3 separate regions of the Homo sapiens genome follow, and all the other regions are linked to region 2. The links are contacts of gene promoters, found by promoter capture Hi-C in blood cells and fetal thymus (Javierre and others, 2016). All regions are on one chromosome and are shown on one strand. Each heading gives the region's core, a stretch centred on a gene start or on the middle of the fragment in contact. The rest is flanking DNA. Distances are from core to core; before and after follow the strand shown. Region 1 overlaps RYR3 (ryanodine receptor 3). Region 2 holds the start of CHRM5 (cholinergic receptor muscarinic 5). Region 3 overlaps RYR3 (ryanodine receptor 3).

Evidence for each region. The method cuts DNA at HindIII sites, captures the fragments that hold promoters and counts their contacts. A CHiCAGO score of 5 or more calls a contact.
Region 1: a fragment that was not itself captured here is called in contact with the fragment with the promoter of CHRM5 in region 2 in 1 of 17 cell types (endothelial precursors); the score reaches 5.1 in endothelial precursors.
Region 3: a contact is called between a fragment that was not itself captured here and the fragment with the promoter of CHRM5 in region 2, in 1 of 17 cell types (erythroblasts). The highest score is 5.1, in erythroblasts.

The regions. Positions count from the first base shown.
Region 1 is chr15:33,765,662-33,769,409 of GRCh38, forward strand. It overlaps RYR3 (ryanodine receptor 3), which reads left to right. Exons shown (of 104, transcript NM_001036.6): 61 at 2,997-3,046; 62 at 3,451-3,511. Among named protein-coding and RNA genes, the nearest start is that of CHRM5, 200 kb to the right of the region's middle. The HindIII fragment of the contact is 6,297 bases long and covers 1-3,748 here.
Region 2 is chr15:33,966,808-33,970,580 of GRCh38, forward strand. It overlaps CHRM5 (cholinergic receptor muscarinic 5), which reads left to right and starts at 1,690. Exons shown (of 3, transcript NM_012125.4): 1 at 1,690-2,343. The region is part of intron 2 of AVEN (apoptosis and caspase activation inhibitor); the gene reads right to left. The HindIII fragment of the contact is 969 bases long and covers 1,318-2,286 here.
Region 3 is chr15:33,711,064-33,714,859 of GRCh38, forward strand. All of the region lies in intron 43 of RYR3 (ryanodine receptor 3), which reads left to right. Among named protein-coding and RNA genes, the nearest start is that of CHRM5, 260 kb to the right of the region's middle. The HindIII fragment of the contact is 1,568 bases long and covers 1,414-2,981 here.

The DNA of each region.
Region 1 (3,748 bases), core at 880-3,379, 200 kb before region 2:
AGTCTAAATAGTCTAAAAACGCTTTCCCTAGCATCCAGTGAACAGTGTACATTATAGGGCCCAGCCATTAAATATCACCATCTTGGGGAGGATATTCAACTTTGAGATTTAGCTAACTTTTATGAAACACTTAGCATTGAGCACAGTTTTTTATATATAAGAGTTATTGCCCATTTGTGTAAAAATCTCTGTGAAACATCATGATGTTTTAAATTCTGAGAACTGCCTGTGTAGTATGATCTCCATTTTCCAGATGAAGAAATTGAATTTCAGTTGGGTTAACTCTACTACCCAAAGTGACTCTTCTGAGTTAGGACAAGAATAAAAATGCAGTCCTGGCTGAGTGCGGTGGCTCACGCTTGTAATCCCAGCATTTGGGGAGGCTGAGGTGGGTGGATCACTTGAGGTCAGGAGTTTGAGACCAGCCTGGCCAACATGGCAAAACCCTGTCTCTACTAAAAAAACAAAAAAAATAGCTGGGCGTGGTGGCACGCACCTGTAGTCCCAGCTACTCTGGAGGCTGAGGCAGGAGAATCGCTTGAACCCAGGAGACGGAGGTTGCAGTGAGCCGAGATGGCACCACTATACTCCAGCCTGGACAAGACAGTGAGTCTCCACCTCAAAAAGAAAAAAAAAAAAAGAAAAAAAGAAAAACCAGTCCTCTGTATCCACGTGAAGTATGATTTATCCTGCACCCTAATTACTTACTCTAAGTTAAGACAGGAGACGCCCCATGCTATCAAAATGAGATACTCTTAAAATCAGGTGCTGACCGAAGACCTCCTAAACATTTGCAGGATGCACCAGTGTGTTTTGTAAGAAGCTAGGGAAACAGTGAGTAAAGTGAGATATTCAGATAATCCAACAGAGGGCAGGTGTGTCTGTTTTCTTTATCTACTTTTCTTAGATTATTAATTCATGGAAATGTAACATTTGTTCAACCAGGCACCATTTGTCACGGCTGGAATACAACCTAGAGCCGATCAGCCTTGCAAATAGCTTTCAAATCCATCAGTGTGCTTGCTGCCCTCCCACAGAAGCAGTCGTGTTTGCACTGAATGTGTCTGCATTGCCAGATTTCTCTTCTTTGCAATCTTCGCCCTTGCGCCACCTTTTCTGCATCTGCAGCCCTTTGCCCGTGGGTCTCAGACTCTCCCTGAGATTCCTTTCATTTATTGTCTTCAAACTCTGAGATGGAGGAGAGGCACTTGGGGACTCGGGGCCCTCATAACTCTGGGCTAAAGACGGTGCTTCCAGTTAAATCCCAGGTTCCATAGGGAACAAGCAGTAGCCTTTGGAAATTTCAGATCCTGGCCTTGGCATGCCTAAGAAAGCACTTCTGACAATGAGATTAGCCATGTTAGTATGAGGATCAAACAACCCAAATATCTGCCTTTGTTAGAAAAACATTGTTTTGTGTTTACACAGAACATGTGTCCAACTTGAAGCATTTTCACCAGAAATACCTGAGTTTACCTGCCCCTAACTCTGAAACCCGAGTCCTATGATGACTCTCTACAGTGAGAAAGTTACCACACAGAGCAGTTAAGGGGCTTCCCCAAGACAGCCCAGCTAATCACAGAGGAACAGAGCCCACATTCCACAGGGTTAGCCCCTCGCTTCAGCTCCATGAGTTTGCATCAACTACCCGTCTCTGAAAAAAAAACCATGGGAAGAAAAAAAGAGCAGCCGATATTTAATTTCACCCTAGATGGCTGCCACGTTTCTGGTAACTTATTGTGTGTTCTCTTAAGCTATAGGCCAGGGGGTCCCAACTCTTTTCCACTGCAAGACCAATTAACTAGCCATGGGAACTTTTGTTGTGATTTTCCAGTAGACAGTCCAAAAAGACTCAGGGCATTTATTGAAAACATTTAAAGGTGAGCAGGTTTTCATCCCCATCAACACTCAGGATATATTCCTTCCCCATTTGAGTTGTCCTATGGAAGACTTCTGCCCTGAATGGGGTAAGGAGCTCCGTGATGAGTTATGAATCAGAAACTGGGAATGTGTCACCAGGGGACCCCGTGGCCTATCCAGGTGGCTTTTTTCTCTCTTCTTTTTTCCCTCTTTCTATTCCACTGCTTTCTGAAGCAACTGCAAAGTTCTTGTCTAGCCATGCCAGTGTCAGTAATGTCAGTTCTGAGCAATCTCTTCCCAAGAGCCTCAGCAACACAGGTCAAATGATGGCCACAGTGCCCCTAGGTGAGGTCCATTAGCAGCATGTTCAGAAACAGCGATGGACTCCTTTCTGACATCACAAGGCCCTCATTAGGCACTGTGGAAAGTCAAACAATGAGGCACAGCTGAACCTTCAGTGGTTCCACAGTGGAAAATATGGGTGAAAGCATAAAGGAGAGTCAAAAAACACAAAAATATACAACATGGGCCTTTCCTAGTTTCCAAGGACCCAGTTAGAACAGTGACCTGGTCAGGCCTGGAGACTAACTGGAGATGACAGAGAATACACAATTCTTAAAACGTTTTTGTTTAACACAATCTCACCTTGTACCTGAACCATTAACACTTTTCCAATCCCAGCTTCTTGCCAACCTCCCAACTAAAACTTCATACCCTCAATGGAAGGCTACAAAATGGTTTGCAATCCATTGCAACAAGGGGAAAATCATGCTTTTTTCCGGAGTCTTCATTTATCCCTGAATGTCACACAAATGAACGTTTCAGTACATGGTACTCTATAGCAAAGTATACTTTGCACTGGGTCACTGCAAAATACTATAACTGTTTCAGAGGGATTGTGTTTAATAAAGATGGAGCTGCCTGCAAGGTACCTTTCATGATTCTCCAAGGCAGTGTGAACCACACATGTTCCTGAGTGTGGACCAGAGGATTCTTTGCTAGGAACATAGTGCATCTCCCTAGAATGCCACTCTGTGCTCTCTGTTTCACAGTGTAAGGGACATTGGGGTGGGGGATACAAAGCGTGAGTCCTTTAATCTCTGTGACTTTCTGAATTGCTTTCTTTTCTGCTTCAGCCTGTTCTGCAAACTTGCCGCTCTCGTTAGACACAGAATTTCCCTCTTTGGTAAGTGAAGTGTTGCTCAAGGTACCGCTCCTCCCTGTAATTATCTTGAACTTGCACTTTGCCTTTATTTGTGTCTTCCTCAGACAACCCGGGCCTTGGGACTAAGGTGTCACCTAAATTTGCCATAGAAAATTGATCTGAAGCATGATAAATGACCTCTTTACCCTTTTAACTGCTCAGATTTTCCACACCAATGAAAATTTTAAGCTCTACCTCTGACATCCATCATAAAGCAAGGCTGTGTCAGGCTAGAAATTAATGCATTGTCGCTGAACACAGGCCCAGGACTTTATGTGTTGGTAGTTAATTACGCTGGGGCTGTGGCTTGTGCATATGGAGAAGACTGCATTTGAAAGACAGGCTGAGTGGTTTGAGGGAATCACAGATGATTTTTTTTATTCCAGGTAGTGATTCTACTACAATGGTGAGCTGTCTTCACATCTTAGCTCAGACACTTGACACAAGGTAAGTCTGCCCAGTTTTTCCCAATAGTTTCTCATGACTTCCTCTCTGACCCTCTCATCTCACTAATTATACTGAAGAGAAGACAGATCGCTGCTGCCAGGCTTTGAGAAGAGAGGAGAGACAGGGCAAAGACCCTAGAAGTTAGCACTCTCTTTTTCTCAGTTCACATAACGAGAGCCACTGCCATGGCATAGACGGAATGCAAAGGCCTGATCAATTCTTATCTTTCCTTCCTAA
Region 2 (3,773 bases), core at 440-2,939:
GAGCTAGGAGTTCAAACTTCATAGAAAAATTAAAATCCATTGGGAAGAAACCTTGACATTAATGAAAAACATATATAATATTATAGTCATCGATCCTCATAAACACAATGGCCCCATTTGATAGATTTTTACTTCTCTCATTTTGGATCTCCACTGAACTCTAAGTCACATTCAATCATTGAAATGGCTTAATAATCAGTGGCTTAAAACTTGGGGTATTTATTATAGAAGTGACCAGTATATAATGACCAATCATTACCATATGAAATTACAATCCTTTTCAGTATCATGCAATGTTAAGTGGGAAAAGTTCAAGAAAATATTCTAAAGATATGTTCTCTTGCATAAATATTCCTATTACAAATGTGTGTCAAAGACCACTATAAAACTAAAATTCACTTCTTTCTCATACATGTTCATCTGTCAGTGTTTAAAATTCTATTGGCTAACAATTAAAGTGTATACTTTGTCTGGATTCTCACTCAGAAAAAACCTACATAAAGACATAGTTTCTGAGACACAAGGAATTTAAAATGAACTGGATATTATATGACTCCAGAGGATTATAGCCAATGTGTTAGGTGTGATAATGGCACAGGGTCATGTGAAAAAGTGTCCATACTTTAAAAATATACATACTAAAGTACAAATAGGTGAAATGAGATTTGCTTTAAAATATTTTAGCAAAGAATTGAATCTGACAATTGTTGAATCTTGGTAATGAGTTTCTGGAGGTTCATGTATTATTTTTGTATTATTTTTCAGAGTTTTGTGTAAGTTTGAAATGTTCCATAATAATTTTTTAAAATTTAAAAACATTATATTGTCTAGATACACTCATAAAGAACTCAGGCAGGGAAAAAACGTTTAAATTTAAAATTTAAATTTTAAACTGAAGTGCAGTTTTAAAAATTTGAATTTTAAATTTAAAAACTGAAGTGCAAAAATTATGAAATTGACATTTAAAAATCTATTCTTTTATACAGCTAATATGGATTTCATCTAACTTAAGGAAAAGCTTTAATGAAGACCCTGTTAAAAGTTTGTATCAAATGAGGACTTATAATGCTTTACTCCAAAGCAACAAAACGCATATGCCCAAAAGATGTATAAAAACAGGCATACATTTAGGAAAAAAAAAAAAGGCAGCCTTTTCTCTGCTACAAATATTTAAAACTCACAGTATACTCTTTCTATCTCAAAGACTTTTAAAAATTATTTTCCATCTTTAGGGAAAACCATATGAGAAAATAACTCAGCAACATGTCTGTGAATAATGCCTAGCAAAGCTTAAAAAAAAAAAAAAAAAAAAAAAAAAGCTTCTAGCCAAAAAGACTAACAGGAAAAAATGAACATTTTCAAAAGCATTTTGGAACCTTATTCCAGCTACCTCCATGCTAAGCCCTCTTTTTCCTCCCAAAATACGTCACTTAACTGTCTGTCAAATAACTCTTGCCCATTCTACCTGATCACACTCTGAAGCTGCAGCTTTTCCTGGATTCTCTTCTCAATGACAAGCTGTTCAAACAGAGAACACCTATCAAAACGAATATCATCATCTGCTCCTTTCTTTCTTCCTTTCAGGATATACTGCTGTCCAGCAGGGGAAGTAATTAATGAGTTTTTTATGTATGGCAGCGTCATCCCATCAGTTTGCTGTCTGGTTTGAATAGCTCCTATCAGCTCTTCATTCATGCCAAGTACGCTCACCGTCCAGAGACATGATAAAGCCGTACTTCCTTCTGGATTTTTACCTCACTATTCAAAAAACAGGGTACCAGAAGCATGGGTTACAAAAGCATGAGGAGGACAGAAGAAATGCCTTCATCTTCTACAGAAAGGAAGCTGATGGACTGAAAAGTTCGTATGGAGAAAGGAAAGCAAGAGTGCAAGAACATCCATGCTTCTAGTCCAGATAATGTTTTTTAAAGCAGCTTGATTTGGAAGCGTGTGTAATTCTGAAATACGAACAAGCAGAACTTTTCCAGGGGGTCAAATGCATATAGGAACAACCAGGATTTCTCATTGCTGAAGCATTCAATGAATCTTTAATAAGTTCTCAACACTCAGATTGTTTGTGATCAGATCAACTGCTGTTACCAGATAAAGGCAAAACTCACCCTTCTGGTTCTATAATCCTATCCAAATGGAGTCTTCATCTACCGCATACTATCCTAACTAATGCTACAGGATTATCAGGAATACAGATATAAAGACACTGCAAGAAATAAAACACTGGCAAAATAAAACATGAAAGGAAAGTAGAGAAGGCATTTTGGGTCTCGAAGCTTACTATTTCCAGCCAGAGTTCAAATTACTGAGCTTCAAACAAACCACTGCCAGGTAAGATTTAATTTTATAACCTTAATTTATATCTTGTCTACTGAAATTAAATCTGCTCGTGCTGTGAATGAGATAGTGGATTTGAATTTCTTGCAACCCTTCCTTAAGCTTTTGCAGATTTAAGCTGAGGTAAACGCTTGTTTTTACTTATGCTGCATAAACAAGTCACTCAGAACTAGATAATAAAGCATCCAAAACTCCCATTCATTTTTCATTGAATTTGTCTCATCTTTGTCTTTATTTTTATCCCAATTTTGTTTTATTTAATAGCTTGAAAAAAATGCATGAAGAGAGCCCTGAATGGTGCATAAGAGCCATTCACAGATAATGTTTACCAACAATATTCAAATGAACTTAGTTTCCCAGAGTACTTGATAAAACAAAGAAAAATTAATAAGCATTTTAAATATTTTTATTCATATAAAGGAACAAAAGCTCAATGACTGATTTCTATTGTTACTAAGAAAAAAAAGCTGTGATGTCATTTCATTCATACTAAAGAAAAATAATCTCTACTAAATCGAGGTATAACACTCTTGTAGGATAGGGCTAATTTATCCTAAAGATACTAGACATTTTTATAACAGACTAAATGAAGACATTTTTCTGATTCAACAAGAGGATAAAAAGATGAAAGATGTCTGGTACCTTAAAACCTCAAAAGCTTTGACTCAGGTCAGTGGTCCAAACTGTAAAATGCAAAGCACTAGTGAAGCCATCAAAGGATTTTAAAAGATACAGTGCCTTTAAGAAATTCCCTAGAAATCACTGCATAATGAGACTTCTAGAGTGACAATCTTATGTAAAAACAACAAAACGTTATCATTTAGCAGAAATCCCAACCACATTGGTTTTCATGAGTTTCATTGGAAAACTTAGGTCCAAAGCACCTTATCATAAAGAAGTCCTACAACAAATAATATTTATATTATCTTAGAAGAGAGGAGACAGGGAAACAAGAGCATATCACACCTAACTACGGAGATCTTGTGGTAATATACATAAAGTTATCAGAAGTAAGTATTCAATACTTGTCTAAAAGTAGTCAAATTAGAAATTCTCTTCCATTTCACTGAATTCTTTCCTTTTTTCAAATTTTAGTTAAGGGAGTAAATTATATGATCCCTTCAGGCTTTTCAAGACAGTCTATAAATAACCTTAAATATCATAAGTCTTTTACATCTGAAGTCATTACAGAAACTTACCTGTCATTTTCCAGTACCAAAGGAAAGCAGCAATTTAATACAAGTAGTGATTATCTAATACAACAATTTGTTTCAGAGAAAAAAATGTTTATTTAGAAATCTCAAAATACTTCTTATGCATACCAGACATAACTAAAAGTTAAGGGTGGTATTGTTGTTGTTTACCTACACTGAGAAACAGCTGAACCCTTAAGGGTTCTTTTCATCTGTTCCCTCCTTATTATG
Region 3 (3,796 bases), core at 948-3,447, 260 kb before region 2:
GATTTCCTCTTCTGAAAAAGCCTCTTCTTTCTCTGCCACATGGCAAGGCTGCAAATTTTCCAAACTTTTACACTCTGTTCTTGTTTAAATAAATTTCCAACTTTAAGTCATTTATTCATTTTCACATCTGAACATAGGTTGTTAGAAGCAGCCATGCCACTTCTTTCTTTCATTTTTTTTTTTTTTTTTTTTTTTTTTGAGACTGAGTCTCGTTCTGTCGCCCAGGCTGGAGTGCAGTGGCATGATCTCAGCTCACTGCAAGCTCCGCCTCCCAGGTTCATGCCATTCTCCTGCCTCAGCCTCCTGAGTAGCTGGGACTATAGGCACCCACCACCATGCCTGGCTAACTTTTTGTATTTTTAGTAGAGATGGGGTTTCACCGTGTTAGCCAGGATGGTCTCAATCTCCTGACTTCGTGATCCACCCGCCTCGGCCTCCCAAAGTGCTGGGATTATAGGCATGAGCCACCGCACCCGGCTACCAGGCCACTTCTTGAACACTTTGCTGCTTAGAAGTTTCTTCCACCAGGATACCCTAGGTCATCACTCTCAAGTTCAAACTTCCATCGATCCCTAAGGCACGAACAGAATGCAGCCAAGTTCTTTACTAATGTGTAATATGCATGACCTTTGCTCCAATTCCAAATAAGTTCCTCATTTCCACCTGAGACCTCAGCAGCTTGGACTTCACTGTCAGCATTTTGGTCACAACCATTTAACTGGTCTCCAAGAAGTTCCAAACTTTCTATCATCTTCTTCTGAGCCCTACAAACACTTTCAATCTCTGCCACCTACCCAGTTCCAAAGCTGCTTCCACATTTTCAGGTATCTTTATAGCAATACCCCAATCTTTGGTACAAATGTTCAGTATTAGTCCATTCTTGCATTACTCTAAATAAATACCTGAAACTGGGTGATTTGTTAATAAAAGAAGTTTAATTGGCTCGTGGTTCTGCAGGCTTTACAGGAAGCATGGTGCTAGCATCTGCTTGGCTTCTGGTGAAGCCTCTGGGAGCTTTCAATTGTGGCAGAAGGTGAAGGGGGAATAGGCACATCATAGGGTGAAAGCAGGCATAAGGCAAGGGGGAGGTGCCACACACTTTTAAATGGCCAGATCTCTTAAGAACTCACTGTTGTGAAGACAGCCTCAAGCCATGAGGGATCTGTCCCCATGATTCAAACACCTCCCACCAGGCCCCACCTCCAGCATTGGGGATTACAATTCAACATGAGATTTGGGCAGGGACAAATATACAAACTGTATCAAGGACTGAATGGTGATGATGATGGCTGAGCCTAGGTATGTTGAGAGAAAAGGAACAGAGGTCACATTGAAGCTTAAAGATTTTTGAGGGTAGAGAGAAAGAAATAAGGATGTCAGAAGAAGCAAAATGGTTTGAGATGGAAGGTAATAAGCTTGGCTTGGGTCACATTATATTGATTTTTCTGTGTACAGTACCCATATAGAGATACCCCTAATTGAATTTGTAGGATAGAAATCAATCAACAGATTAGAACTAAGTAGATTTGCAGTCCATTGGTAGCTCAAATGCTTCACAGTAGGTTGCCACAGGTGAAGGCATGAAAAAGAAAAATGTGGAGAGTATGAAAAAGAAAAATGAGAATATTTCTGAATACTTAGGAGGAGGAATAGTGGCTCAATCACAACAGAATGTTACAGAAGAGTTTGGAGTAGAGAATGGAGTAACTTGGGTTCAAATTTGGCTCTATCATTTACTAGTTGTGTGAATTGAAGCAAGTTAGTCAAAATACCTAACCTCAGTGCTTTTTTATGTGTAAAACAGAGATGATAATAATGTATGCCTCACAGAGTTGTGAGGCTTAAATGAAATAATCCATGGAAAACTTAGATCAGCCCAGTGCCACAAACCTTATAAACTTGTAGTTATGATAGTTGTTGTTCATGATCTTTACGAGAGTGGTAGGGCATTTGAAATGGGAAAACTGTAATAAACAGATTTCTTTGGAATCTCAAAGCCCTTTATAAGTCCTTATGTCTAAAAGGTGATTCAAAAGGACTTTCTGAATACCTTTGTGAACTCTGCTCAGCAATGTAAGATAAAAGTGATATAAGGAATCGTGGCAGATGATGGAAGTATTCATGGTGGGTGATGGTAGATGATGGTGGGTGGTGGTATATGATTATGGTGGGTGATGGGGTGTTCATGGTGGGTAATGGTGAGTGGTAGTGGGAATTGTGATAGTGGGTGATGAATGGTGATGATGCTAGTGATAGTGGAATATGATAGTTGGTCAGTGGTTATAGTGAGTTGTAGGGTGACTGAGGTGGGTGGTGGTTAGTGAAGGTAGACATGGTGATGGTGGTGGCTGATGATGATGGTGATGATGGGATATGATGGTTGGGTGGTGCATGGTCATATAGGGGGGTTATAAGGGTGAGTGTGGTGAATGATGGTGAGTGATGATGGGGGTGGTGAGGGTTGTGGTGAGGATAACAGCTAACACTTATTGAGCATTTACCATGTGCCAGGCACTGTTCAAAACACTTTTACATATATTAACTTTAATTATACGACAATCCAATGAGGGAAGCATCTTAGTCTGTTCAGGCTGCCATAACAAAATACCATAGACAAGGTAGCTTATAAACAACGTAAATTTATCTCTTACACTTCTGAAAGCTGGGAAGTCCAGGATCAAGGTGCTGGCAGATTCAGTGTCTGGTGAGGTTTCCTGGTTCATAGATGGTGCCTTCTCACTTTGTTCTCACATGGTGGAAGAGGCAAGGCAGCTCTCTGGGGCCTCTTTTGTAGTGGCACAAATCCCATTCATGAGGGCTCTGCCCTTATGACTTAATTACCTACCAAAGGCCCTACTGCCTAATATCGTCACCTGGACAGTTAGGATTTCAACATGAATTTTGGAGGGTGGGGGGGACACGAATATTCAGACCATAGCAAGTGGATACAATTATCTTCATATTGTAGATGAAGACCCTGAAGCTTAGATTAAATACCTTGCCCAGAGTCTCATAGGTAGTAGAAAGTAAAGCCAGAAATTGAATCAAGCAGTTTGACTCCAGAGGCCACAGTTTATGAACCATTGTGCACTGTTGTCTTCCTGTCTCCCTAATCAACAAGGAGAAACAACATTTTCTCCTTTGAGCTTGTCAAAAATGGTGGTATTATTTAATCACTGTTTGGTGCTAATTTTAAAAATTTTAAGCCATATCAAAAGCTTTTAATATATCAAAATAATGGAATTAGAAAACTCTTTCTAACATTAATTTACTATTATTTCTTAATGTTTGTAGTAAATCTTCTTAAATATTTGTCTTTAAGAAAATGTTTTAAGGCATATAATTTGCTTCACTTTATTTTTATTAGCTGTTGAGAAGCCTTGGGTTGTGTTTAACTCTGGAAGTAATGAAGTCGTTAAGCTTCTATTTTCCCCGCAGTTGCAGGCACTGTAGCCAGGCTAAGCACAGATGTGTTTGGGTGTCTGTGATTAATCCCTTCCTATTGTAGACTCTGAGAAGGAAAAGGTTTCCTATCAATCCACAAGAAAAAGGGAAAAGTTATTCTGTGTTTTCTTAGAGTCCTTGGAGAGTTATAGCGATATCTTCCCCAGACTACAAACTTAGTTTAAGGAACATAATATCTCCTAGCTTTGCTGAATCTGCTTTCCTAGGTAGATTTATTATCAGTGGCCATAACTTGGACATCCATCATGTGACATGTGAAGAGTCTATGAGGGGCTGTGAAACGTGATGCTCTAGAAGTCCTGCCCAGAAGTCACTTCCTACAACTCAAAGC